Linked DNA regions of Homo sapiens: region 2 is linked to region 1. Evidence: promoter capture Hi-C in human tissues and cell types (Jung and others, 2019). All regions are on one chromosome and are shown on one strand. Each heading gives the region's core, a stretch centred on a gene start or on the middle of the fragment in contact. The rest is flanking DNA. Distances are from core to core; before and after follow the strand shown. Region 1 holds the start of TSNAX-DISC1 (TSNAX-DISC1 readthrough (NMD candidate)). Region 2 overlaps SIPA1L2 (signal induced proliferation associated 1 like 2).

Region 1 (5,555 bases), core at 875-3,374:
AGCTGGGATTACAGGCACCTCCCACTACGACCAACTAATTTTTCGTACTTTTTTTTTTTTTTTTTTGAGACGGAGCCTCGCTCTGTTGCCCAGGCTGGAGTGCAGTGGCACGATCTCGGCTCACTGCAAGCTCCGCCTCCTGGGTTCACGCCATTCTCCTGCCTCAGCCTCCCAAGTAGTGGGGACTACTGACGCCCGGCTAATTTTTTGTATTTTTAGTAGAGACGGGGTTTCACCGTGTACTTTATTAGAGTCAGGGTTTCACCATGTTGGCCAGGCTGGTCTCAAACTCATGGCCTCGTGATCCCCCCGCCTCGGCCTCCCAAAGTGCTGGGATTACAGGCGTGAGCCACCACACCCAGCCGCAACTCCACCTTCTGTATCAGTACGCTCTTTATTCAATTACGGCCAGCTGTCTTAAACTTCTGACGATCACAGTAGATACTGTGGTGGTTTTCAAATATATCCACAAATAACCTGAGACTCCTCCCTCCAAAGGGTGGGACATAACTTCCTTCCTCTTCAATGTGAGACAGTTTTTAAAACTGCCTCCCTTCTAACAAACACAATGTGACAAAAATGACAGTGTCTGATGTCTGAGATTAGGACATAGAGATTGTGGTTTCCTCCTTGCTCTCTTGCACTCTCTCTCTCTGAAGGAGGCCAGATGCCACACCAAAGGACATCCAAGCAGCACAAGAAGTTCATGTGGACAGGAACAGAGAGCTGGTTGCAGGCAAAAGGCCTAAACTATCAACAGCTGTAGATCCTTCAGCCCCAATCAAGGCTTCAGGTGATTGCAAATAGGAATCAACCAGCTAAGCCCTTCCCAGATTCCTTAATCACAGAAACGTAAGGTACAGGATAGTGGATAGACAGGGACAAAAGGAAGAGGATTTTGTTTTGTGTTTGTTTTGAATTGAGGAATAACTTGTCCAAGTTAATATGCTGAGAAAAGGGGACTGTGAAAATATGTGTATATAGATATGCGAGATTCACTAATAGATACAAGCTCCCACTCTGTGCTAAGTGTTACAGTTAAAACAAAGATACCGTCCCTGTCTTCAAGTCTAGTAGAGGAAACAAATACACACTAAATGAAAATATATTTTAGCATATAACAGATGAGTAAATATTATCAGGTACACAATTCTTGAGTATGTGACATGTCAAATATTAATTAATGTTTACTGTTTCTTGTGTTTAAGTCATGTTTACCTGATTACTAATATTTCTCTTAATGGGACATAAAAGTGAAGGCCTTTGTAATCCAGACTTTTAGGGTACATCTAGCGCCATCACAAAACCTCCAGCTAAAGTTTCACATTAAATTCTTAGGGACTGTTTTCTTGCGCATAACCATGGCTAAATAATTTTGTTCTCTCCCCTTCTTCAACTTACATTGCAGAGAACTTACATTTAAAGGCCAACATCACGGGTGAAGATGAATTAACATCCTTCCCTTCTCTTCTTTGGTTATGTGGGAAATTGTCATGCTTCCTTTTCCTGAACCCTCCTGATCCTTATATAGAGAAGAAAAAAAGAGAGGGATCTTCCATCACCAAGAGTTTGCAAAACACAACATAGACAAACCTACTCCTTGCTTTAAAACCAGATACCCACAGGGCCCTCGCCTTAGAGGCTTTCTCCGCAGACTGACAGAGACGCTGCCCAGGCCTTTCCAAGCAAATCATCCAAGTTTCCACCAACTGGTGCTATGATCTGGCATTACAGCAATTACTGAACTAGGATAAAATCACACCTCAAAAATTTAAGAAAAAAGGAGGTGTAAACAGGGCCGATCTGGCCGGGGAGAGAAACAGAGGGGCCGCCCCCGAGTCTACAAGGGACGAAGGCATCCTTCAAGGGTGAAAAGGGGAAAACTGCATAGAAAGACTGGAGAACCTCCCCCTCCGGATAAATAACGCCCCGTGTTGTTAAGGACGCCACCTTCTTTGTTGCTCATGTCGTCACAGCCTACGGTGAGACGAGCGGAGACTGAAGGACCTGGAGCAAGAGGAGTGCGCGAGGTACAGGCCGAGGGAACCTGGGAAAACAGCCTGCAGAAAAACGCTTTGCAGCCGGGCCGACTACAACGCAGTGGCCGGAAGTCTCCTCTCACGTACTTCCGGCCTGCGTCCGGAGGGGAGGGGAGGCCGTCGCCGCTGGCTCCGCCCACCGCGTGGTCCAAGGACCACCACCCGCCACCGCCGCGCGAGCGTACTATTGCGGCCGCCCTCTGCTGCGCCTGAAGAGAGAGGCGACTCTACAAGCCTCACAGCATGCACTGTTACTAAAAAGACGATGCGTCCTCCTGGACCTGAGATCTGTGTGATCGTGGGAAAGCGACGAAAAACGTACGTAATTTTTTTCTGAAGGCACCTTCGGGACACCTTACCCTTCCCTCAGGGGGGCCCAGCTTCGCGCGCGGTGCTGTGGGGGTTGTAGTTCCTCCGCCGGAGCGGGACCTCCGGTGCCCCGGGCCAGGGATGTGAGAAAGAAGCGAGCCCTCGAGTTTCCTCGGGGCATGTGGGAAGGTTTTTTTCAGGATCCAGGCAGAACCTTACAGAGCTGGGAGTTTTTTAACTTTCCATTCCTGGCAGTGACGCCAGGAGCTTTAAGTGATGGAAATATGCGAGTCAATCAGTGGATGGTGTTAGTACTGTTTTCTCTTATGAAGATCAAGCCTGCCCTTCGGGTCTACTTCCACCTTTTCCCCCTGCCCGTCTCCCACCGTCTCCCTCCTCTCCACTGGCTCTCAGAAGCCGGACAGCCTGTGTTCAACTTGCCTCCACGGAGTGGTTGTGTGACCTTGATGAAGCACGCAACTTCTCTGCCTCAGTTTCCTTATCTGTAACATAGGGATAGAATAGTACCCGCCTTGTAGGGTTATTTGAGGATGAAAGGAGTTAAGTCTCGTGAAAACGCTCTTTCACATATAACTGCTCAATTAAATATTAAATACCATACTCCTCTCCCACCAGGGCTCTCCCAAACAAAATGATAGACAGGTGAGTAATAGCAGCTGTGTTCCACTAAACTGTGGGCATTTCATTATGAGCAGGTGCTGCCACCATATCTAGACTTTGTGCCGCCCCTTAGCCCCAGTGCTTCTCAGCGCTGTGATCCGGTCCCATGTAAGCTTCCGTCAATGTTTGTTGAAGAATCATGTTCCTGGTGTCAGAATAGGTAACTAGATGGCAATTCAGCACCGTCTAGAGAGAAACTCAGGCCAAGGCTTCATAACTGGGGTGCCCTAGGCCTAGTACAGAAAACACAAGTACATTTTAAGCTTTCTCTAAATAACCTCTCTATTGTGGTCATGTGTTGAACACACAGTCTTTTCTCCTTGTTAATTTAGGAACAAAGGAACAGTAAATGGAGTAACTTGGCTAGAATATGGCAGTAACTACAAGGCATGTTCTGCTCTGGCACGAAGGTAACCACCACTCATACCTCTCCAGCCCTGTGAATACGTCAATTGACTAAGCAGATTCCTTGAGGATAAAGTAGGCTCCTGGGGACCTTGCTTGTTGGGCTACTTGCTTTGTGGATGTTAAACAGATAATTCTCATGAGTTTGAGTGACGTCTGATCTACCAGTATTCCCCCTACTCTGATTAGAAATGACTTGACCATGCCAAAAAGAATAAAAGACAGCTCTGATACAAATGTAGCCATTTTAATGTGACTCCCTCTAGATCCAAGGAAGCCAGTACTTACGAACATTTTCAGAGTCAATACTTACTGTACTGTACCATAGTCGAGGAAAAGGGTATTTTTCCTAACTCTCCTGGAGTAGCACATCCCAAGATCTCAACTTTCCAAAACCTGGATCAACTATATTTCTTTTCTTTCTCCAGCCACCACTCCCCTAGCCTGTTCAACTACAGCTATGTTACCTGAACTGCTTTCCACTCTTTCCCATAAATGTAATGATTAGAACACTAAGTTTCATAACCTGTAATGACTTCTGAAAGTATTTAAGGGAGGTGAATCCCAGGAGCACTTTCCCAGCACTTATTTGCATATGCATTTACCCCAGGCCTCCCCAGGTGTTCCAACTTGTAGCTACTCCTTTGTCAGGAAATAGATTTCAACTTCTGTAACAACCTGCATCCCTACCTGGTCTCCTTGTTTTATTGCTTCAGATGCAAACACATAGTTTTGGTACTTGGCAAAACAGTTTTTTGTTTGTTTTTTAAAGGAAGACAACCACCCCAAGTCAGGGAGAGGAAGGTAAAGATTTTTAGTAGGATCTTACCTCTGATGTTGTTTTTACTTGTTATTGTTGCTTTTTTTTTTTTTTTTTTTTGACACGGTTTCACTGTCACCCAGGCTGCAGTCCACGGCTCACTCACTACAGCCTCGACCTCCTCGGGCTCAAGTGATCCTCCCACCTCAGCCTCCCAGGTTGTTGGGACTACAGGCACATGCTACTATGCACGGCTAATTTTTTTTTTCTCTCCATTTTGTGGAGACGGGGTTTCGCCATGTTGCCCAGGCTGGTCTCAAACTCCTGGGCTCAAGTGATCCACCTGCCTAGGCCTCCCAAAGTGCTGGGATTACAGTGAGCCACTGTGCCTGGCCCCCTGTTGCATTCTAATTGCCTATATTTGACTCTGAATGAAGCACTAAGCCTTTCAATTGCATGGTGGTTATTCAGTTCATAAATCCTCTCATTGGTCACCATTAGATTAAGAGAAAAATCGCATATCAAAACTGGTTTGGGAGGCCAAGGCGCGCAGATCATTTGAGGTCAGGAGTTCGAGACCAGCCTGGCCAACATGGTGAAACAGTCTCTACTAAAAAATACAAAAATTATCTGGGTGTGGTGGCACGCACCTGTAATCCCCAGAGGCTAAGGCAGAAGAATCTCTTGAACCCAGGGCGGGAGTTTGCAGTAAGCCAAGATAGCGCCACTGACCTCCAGCCTGGGCCACAGAACAAGACTTCACCTCAAAACAAAAACAAAAACAAACAAAAAAAACTGGTTTTGGATATTGAAGGAAAATCATATAATCCAGTAAAGAGAAGATAATTAACAGATTATCTATTTCAGCATTTCCCTTATTTAGTTATTACATAAATAACTAAATCCTGGGGTAGAAGAGATCATGGGGAATTGTAAGAATCTGGAGTTTCTGTTTTTTAAAAGATAACCATAATATTTAAAAGATATCTGTGGGATCCAGAGTGGTATTGTGAAGTGTACACATTACCTTTATTGTGAATAAATTCAAAGATTTATTTTTCAAGCAATGCTAGGATGTAGTAGGAGAAAATGATGTTCCAGTTTTATAACACAAGAAAGAGAAGCTCATATTGAAGAAGTAAAGAGTGATGGGTAAAACCACAATGAGATATCACTTCAAATCCACTAGGATGACTAAATTTAAAAAGAAGACAGAAAATAATAATTGGTGAAGATATGAAGAAATTGGAACCCTGATCAATTGCTGGTAGGAATGTAAAATGGTCCAGCCACTATAGGAGACAATTTGGCAGTTCCTCAAAGAGTTGGACATAGAATTACCATATGACCCAGCAATTCCA
Region 2 (5,110 bases), core at 2,090-4,589, 1.1 Mb before region 1:
GAGTCACACTCTCGGTTATAGTTAACTACTAATGCTCTTCATATCTTATAACTAGCCCATATAGCTCCACCTTTCCACATGGATATCCTGAAAGAGTGTGTCAAACCTCCTTTGCTGGTTCTACTGACCAAGTTATGCTGAGTAATAATGAGTTCATTTTCAGTGTGTCCCTAGTAACGAGCACTCTCTTCTGCATATGATTAAGAAAATGTGTTAAATGACTGACTGGATTGAGACACTAGGGTCACACTGTGATCTGTGACCTCCGGAGGCCTTAGGAACTGCAGTGCTTCTAGGAAAAATCAGAATATTGTTGGACTTTCTTCAGCTTATTTTTTGGTTTGGTATTCTCTTGTGTTGAATTGCTTTCAGATAGTGGGGAAGAACACCACAGTCTCTTCCGGTTTTGTTTTAATTGGTTGATATACTTCTCTTCCTATTTTACTAATAAACATTTAGCCAAAAGGGGTGTCTTGAACTCTGCCCATTAGATTACTCCATATTTTTCACTTCTACATATTTGCTTAATCTTCTGAGAAATATCCCCATTTAGTTGAGTTCCTCAAGAAATCAGAACAGTCCGAAGTAAGCTATCTGGTAGTTTATTCAAACTCTTAAGTAAAAATATCTAGGTAAAGAGCCAGTGTTAAAAATTGTTATTGTGGAAAGTAAGAACTCCTGGGTGAATAAAAGATTATGTCTGCTGAGATGAACTATTGTGTGGAGTTTTAAAAGAAAGTTCTGGTTAATGCTTAAGACATAGTGTCCTGTGAAGTCAGCATAACTACTTTCACTGTCTTCTGGAGGTGGTTTTGATAACACATTTGGTTCCTTGTTGAACAGTGGGTATTCACATTGTTCAGGAATAGCTTTGGGATACTGTCCTCTCCGTATTGAAGTTTCTAATAAGTAATTTTAGGAATTATAGTTTTGATTCTTTGTACAGGGCAAATGCTACCTGTTTCAGGTGTTTAAATGGCCTAATGCAAGAAACAGTGGTTTCTTTTTAGCAGGTTCTCAAGGTTCTCAAACTTTTTTCAACGTGCATCCCATCTATACACAATTGTCTAAGTGTTCATGTATGTATGCGTATACATGTATACATATCTGCATGCACGTTTGTGTGTGTGTATATGTATAATATATCTGTATGTATAAACATATACTTTACTGTGCTAAGATATTATGGACATAAAACAAATGTACATTTTAAGAAGATTAATATTAAAAATAAATAGATGTAGAAGTATTTTCTCTGCATCTCAAGGGCATTTGTATCTTTGAAATGTGTGGCCCCTGTGTAGAGACCACTGTTGTACTATCACTGGTTAGAGTTTATAGCAGTTGAGAAATGGAATTTCTAGGGAGCCTGTAGGGTCTTGTGAGGCAAGCGGAAGACAAACTCCACTCTTGATGGGCCTTATATTTACTGTGTATTTATTCTTTTTCCCGAAGACATTTCTGACTTTGGCCTGTTTTCTTCCAGAATTGCTTGTGGGTCTTGGTTTGGGGTTTCATTTATTGAGGGGTAGGAGGTTAATGTAATGGCGATGCTATTCTCCTTAGAAAGTTTCTAATTGAACTCAGCTGTTTTTTTGTTTTGTTTTGTTTTGTTTTTTGAGACAGAGTCTCGCACTGTCACCCAGGCTGGAGTGCAGTGGTGCGATCTTGGCTCACTGCAAGCTCTGCCTCCTGGGTTGCTGCCATTCTCCTGCCTCAGCCTCCCAAGAAGCTGGGACTACAGGTGCCTGCCACCATGCCTAGCTAATTTTTTTTTGTATTTTTAGTAGAGACGGAGTTTCACCATGTTAGCCAGGATGGTCTCGATCTCCTGACCTCGTGATCTGCCCGCCTCGGCCTCCCAGAGTGCTGGGATTACAGGCGTGAGCCACTGTGCCTGTTCTGAACTCAGCTGTTTAAGAAGCATCATACTATCACACTCAGACGAAAGCATTCCCAGGATCAGGGTATGTTAAAAGTTCAGATTGACAGCCTAGCTCTGTCTGTATGTGATTGGCCAGAACTGTAGCACACAGCCACCCGTAGTGCAAGGAATGCCTGGCTTCCCAGCCGTTAGTGGGTTGGGAATGAGTGAGGAGAGACAGCAGGGAGCCCTGCTCTTGTATCTCCAGTAACTTCCAGCTAAACGAGCACCATCCACCCCCACCCATCCTCCTGTTCGATTTTAATAATGGAACATAAGCAGCAAACAGGCAGGGACATTTCTGGTTTACTGCTGTATTCCCTGCACTTAGGTGGTTTTTGCCACATAATAGGCTCACAGTAAACAAATATTTGTTAAAGAAATGATTGGGAGTTGTGGGTTGAACGTAAAAGAACTTCCTTTATCTTGGCTTTTGTTGAACTAAATACTGTTGAGCAAGTTCTAATCATTATTTCTATTGTACATGATCTATCTTGAACAACAGTTTATACCTCATTTATGCCTTTCCTGGGTCGTTTGAAATGACCTGTGATTGAACTCTGATATGGAACTGGTAAAAATGTGGAAGTTTCTGAAGAGGGACTGTGTTCCATCTGTTACATCAAGAACTTTATAGCCCCATTCAGAGGGGTGTGGTTCCTGGGAGCCTGGGCACCCTTAGGTGGCCGCCTTTCATGAGAGAGTATGATTCACACCTTTCCCAGGTTTCAAAGTCTCATCTGTGCTGATGCCTGCATAGCCCTATTTGAATCCCATGAGGCTGCAGTTGACTTAAAAGCCCTGGCTGGGGCTTAATCAAGCTTACTGAACAGAAAGGATTTCTGAATTGTGTAGTACTGTCTGTAGTCCTTTAGCTCTCAGTCCATTAGCAGGGTTCATTTCTACAGGAAATCATGATGTTTAAAAACCCCATCAGTATTGTATAGTGCATCTTTTGTTGACTCAGTACATGAGGATATTATTTATGCCTTAAATGTGGTAGGTGCTCAGTAGCCATAGTCTTAATTTTATATGGTAAAAGTCTTTTATCTTTAATATCTTAACGTAGTGCTAGTTCTTATAATATGACATTAGAGGGATGTCATTCTAACTCCTATTTGTTTACATTTGTGTATAAGGTATGCTGTGATAAGTGCTGTAAGCAAGGCATACATGATAGTAGAAGCATCCAATTTATCAACCAATTTTATTTGAGGATCGTTGTAACTCATTTGTTTGGAATAATAGGTCATTTTTCCCATTTAAAATGTTTTAATTTGGGCATAGTGGCTCATGCCTGTAATCCCAGTGCTTTGGGAGGCTGAGGCAAGGATTGCTTGAGCCCAGGAGTTTGAGACTAGCCTGGACTGCAAAGCAAGGCCCCATCTCTACAGAAAATTTTAAAATGAGCCGAGTGTGGTGGTGCACACCTGTCGACCTAGCCACTGGGGAGGCTGAGGAGGGCCGATCCCTTGAGCCCAGGCGTTCGAGGTTACGGTGGGCTGATCGTGCCAGTGGACCCCAACCTGTGTGACAGAGTGAGACCCTGTCACAAAAAAAAAAAAATGTTTTAAATGACAAGAATAAGTGAAGGAGACTAATGTTGATTTATGAAGAGAATAAAGAATTGGGGAGAGATATTCTTAAAGGCGAGTGTAAAATGTTACCGTGCTTGAACTTTCATTTGTGTTCTCTCATGTATACTTAACGAGAACCTTATAAGGCTGGTGGGATTTTTTTCCCTTTTACAGATACAAAAACTAAGGTTTAATGAAAGTGTGGTTTTCTGAATCTGAGTCCTTATGTTTTAAACCCATTTCTCTTGGTTCCAGCTATAGTGTTCTTTATTCTACAGCTCACTTGTAAGGTATGGTAGGTTTCAATAAATCATGATGAAAGGAAAGAATGAAAAGACAGAAAGGAAGAAGGGAGAGAGGGAGGGAACTAAAGAAGGTGTGTGCATATAAGAATGGCGGAATTACCGACTCACTATCACTGAAAGGGGGAAGTGGAGGCTGAGGGTTGGGCTAATGAGCTCATTGTTCTGGTCTAAAAACTGCCCTGTTCTCTCAGCCAGTGAATTGTCTGTTATTAACTAGAAATTTTGTAATTTGTGGTGAGGTAGCAGTTTTACTGATTGAATCAGGTTATATATTCTTTGTTGGGAAGTGAGTGGGTCCTTCTGTGATCATGCAGAGAACATTTTTTTTAGCCCGAGTCTTTGCCAAGATTAAAAGAAATATAAGAGGAAAACAATTTTTGTTTTGCATTTATATTTTGCTAGATTTGCATAATCTTTGTTTAAGCCAGTTGAATGTGAATCCCTAAATACATTTCAGGCATTTAAATATTTAAAAGGATTCATCCACAGTACTTTACTCACCCAAAGAATAAGTGCTTACAACAAAGAAAATAACACCCTTGCAGATGTAGCCTATGTAGACTTTGTTCACCTTGTCATTGAATTATACAACATTAATAGAGAAGCTAGAATTTGAACATTCACTGAAATGCTTAGCTGGCTCTGTTCCAAAATATTGTTTCCCTGGTAGAGAAAGCAGGACAATTTGTTTAAAACTGGCAGTTTGCCAGTCAGAATAGCTCTGACGCAATCATTGCAGTAACTACTTTGCTCTGACTGCTAATTTTAGGGCAGTTAAATCTGGGTGATGTCTGATGGCTGCTGTCGCTGTGCGTCTGGTTATGTGAAGCTTTCTAAATTCATCCTCTTAGCTTGGCACCGTAACTTAGTTCTTTCTGAGATAAGCTGTGGAGCAGAGGGGATGTTGAGTCGGCACAGGATATGTGCATGGAATGAGGAACAAGGCCCTAGGAGAGTTTCAAGAGACACTGCTTTCATCTTACTACGCTCTTTGTTATTCCAATAGCAAAGGCTTAGCACATCTGTACTTCCCTTGCTGTAGCACCCTGGGAGGTGTTGAGGAAGGTGGAGAGAAGTGTACATCGAGACACCTACCTTCATGGAACAGGGTTCTGGCAATATGCACTTGCTTTCCTTGTCATCCCTGCAAGCATTAGTGTGTTTAAAAGTGAACTTTTATCTTCTTCCTTTTTGGAACAGGTAAAACTACGGAGAAAAATGGTAATTTAAAAAAATCTGGCCGGGCGTGGTGGCTCATGCCCATAATCCCAGCACTTTGGGAGGCTGAGGCGGGCGGATCATGA

Evidence for each region. Contacts are between HindIII fragments. The study calls those that stand out against the background at their distance.
Region 2: a contact is called between a fragment that was not itself captured here and the fragment with the promoter of TSNAX-DISC1 in region 1, in 1 of the 25 tissues and cell types used here (hippocampus).

Annotation. Positions count from the first base shown.
Region 1 is chr1:231,525,222-231,530,776 of GRCh38, reverse strand. TSNAX-DISC1 (TSNAX-DISC1 readthrough (NMD candidate)) reads right to left here and starts at 2,124. Exons shown (of 16, transcript NR_028393.1): 1 at 1,951-2,124; 2 at 1,418-1,522. TSNAX (translin associated factor X) reads right to left here and starts at 2,108. Exons shown (of 6, transcript NM_005999.3): 1 at 1,951-2,108; 2 at 1,418-1,522. The coding sequence starts at 1,966. TSNAX-DT (TSNAX divergent transcript) reads left to right here and starts at 2,221. Exons shown (of 3, transcript NR_173106.1): 1 at 2,221-2,357; 2 at 3,362-3,439. RefSeq lists enhancers at 1,352-2,551, 2,020-2,841 and a silencer at 4,520-4,814. The HindIII fragment of the contact is 13,165 bases long and covers 1-5,555 here.
Region 2 is chr1:232,620,117-232,625,226 of GRCh38, reverse strand. The region is part of intron 1 of SIPA1L2 (signal induced proliferation associated 1 like 2); the gene reads left to right. Among named protein-coding and RNA genes, the nearest start is that of SIPA1L2, 7.5 kb to the left of the region's middle. The HindIII fragment of the contact is 3,951 bases long and covers 1,364-5,110 here.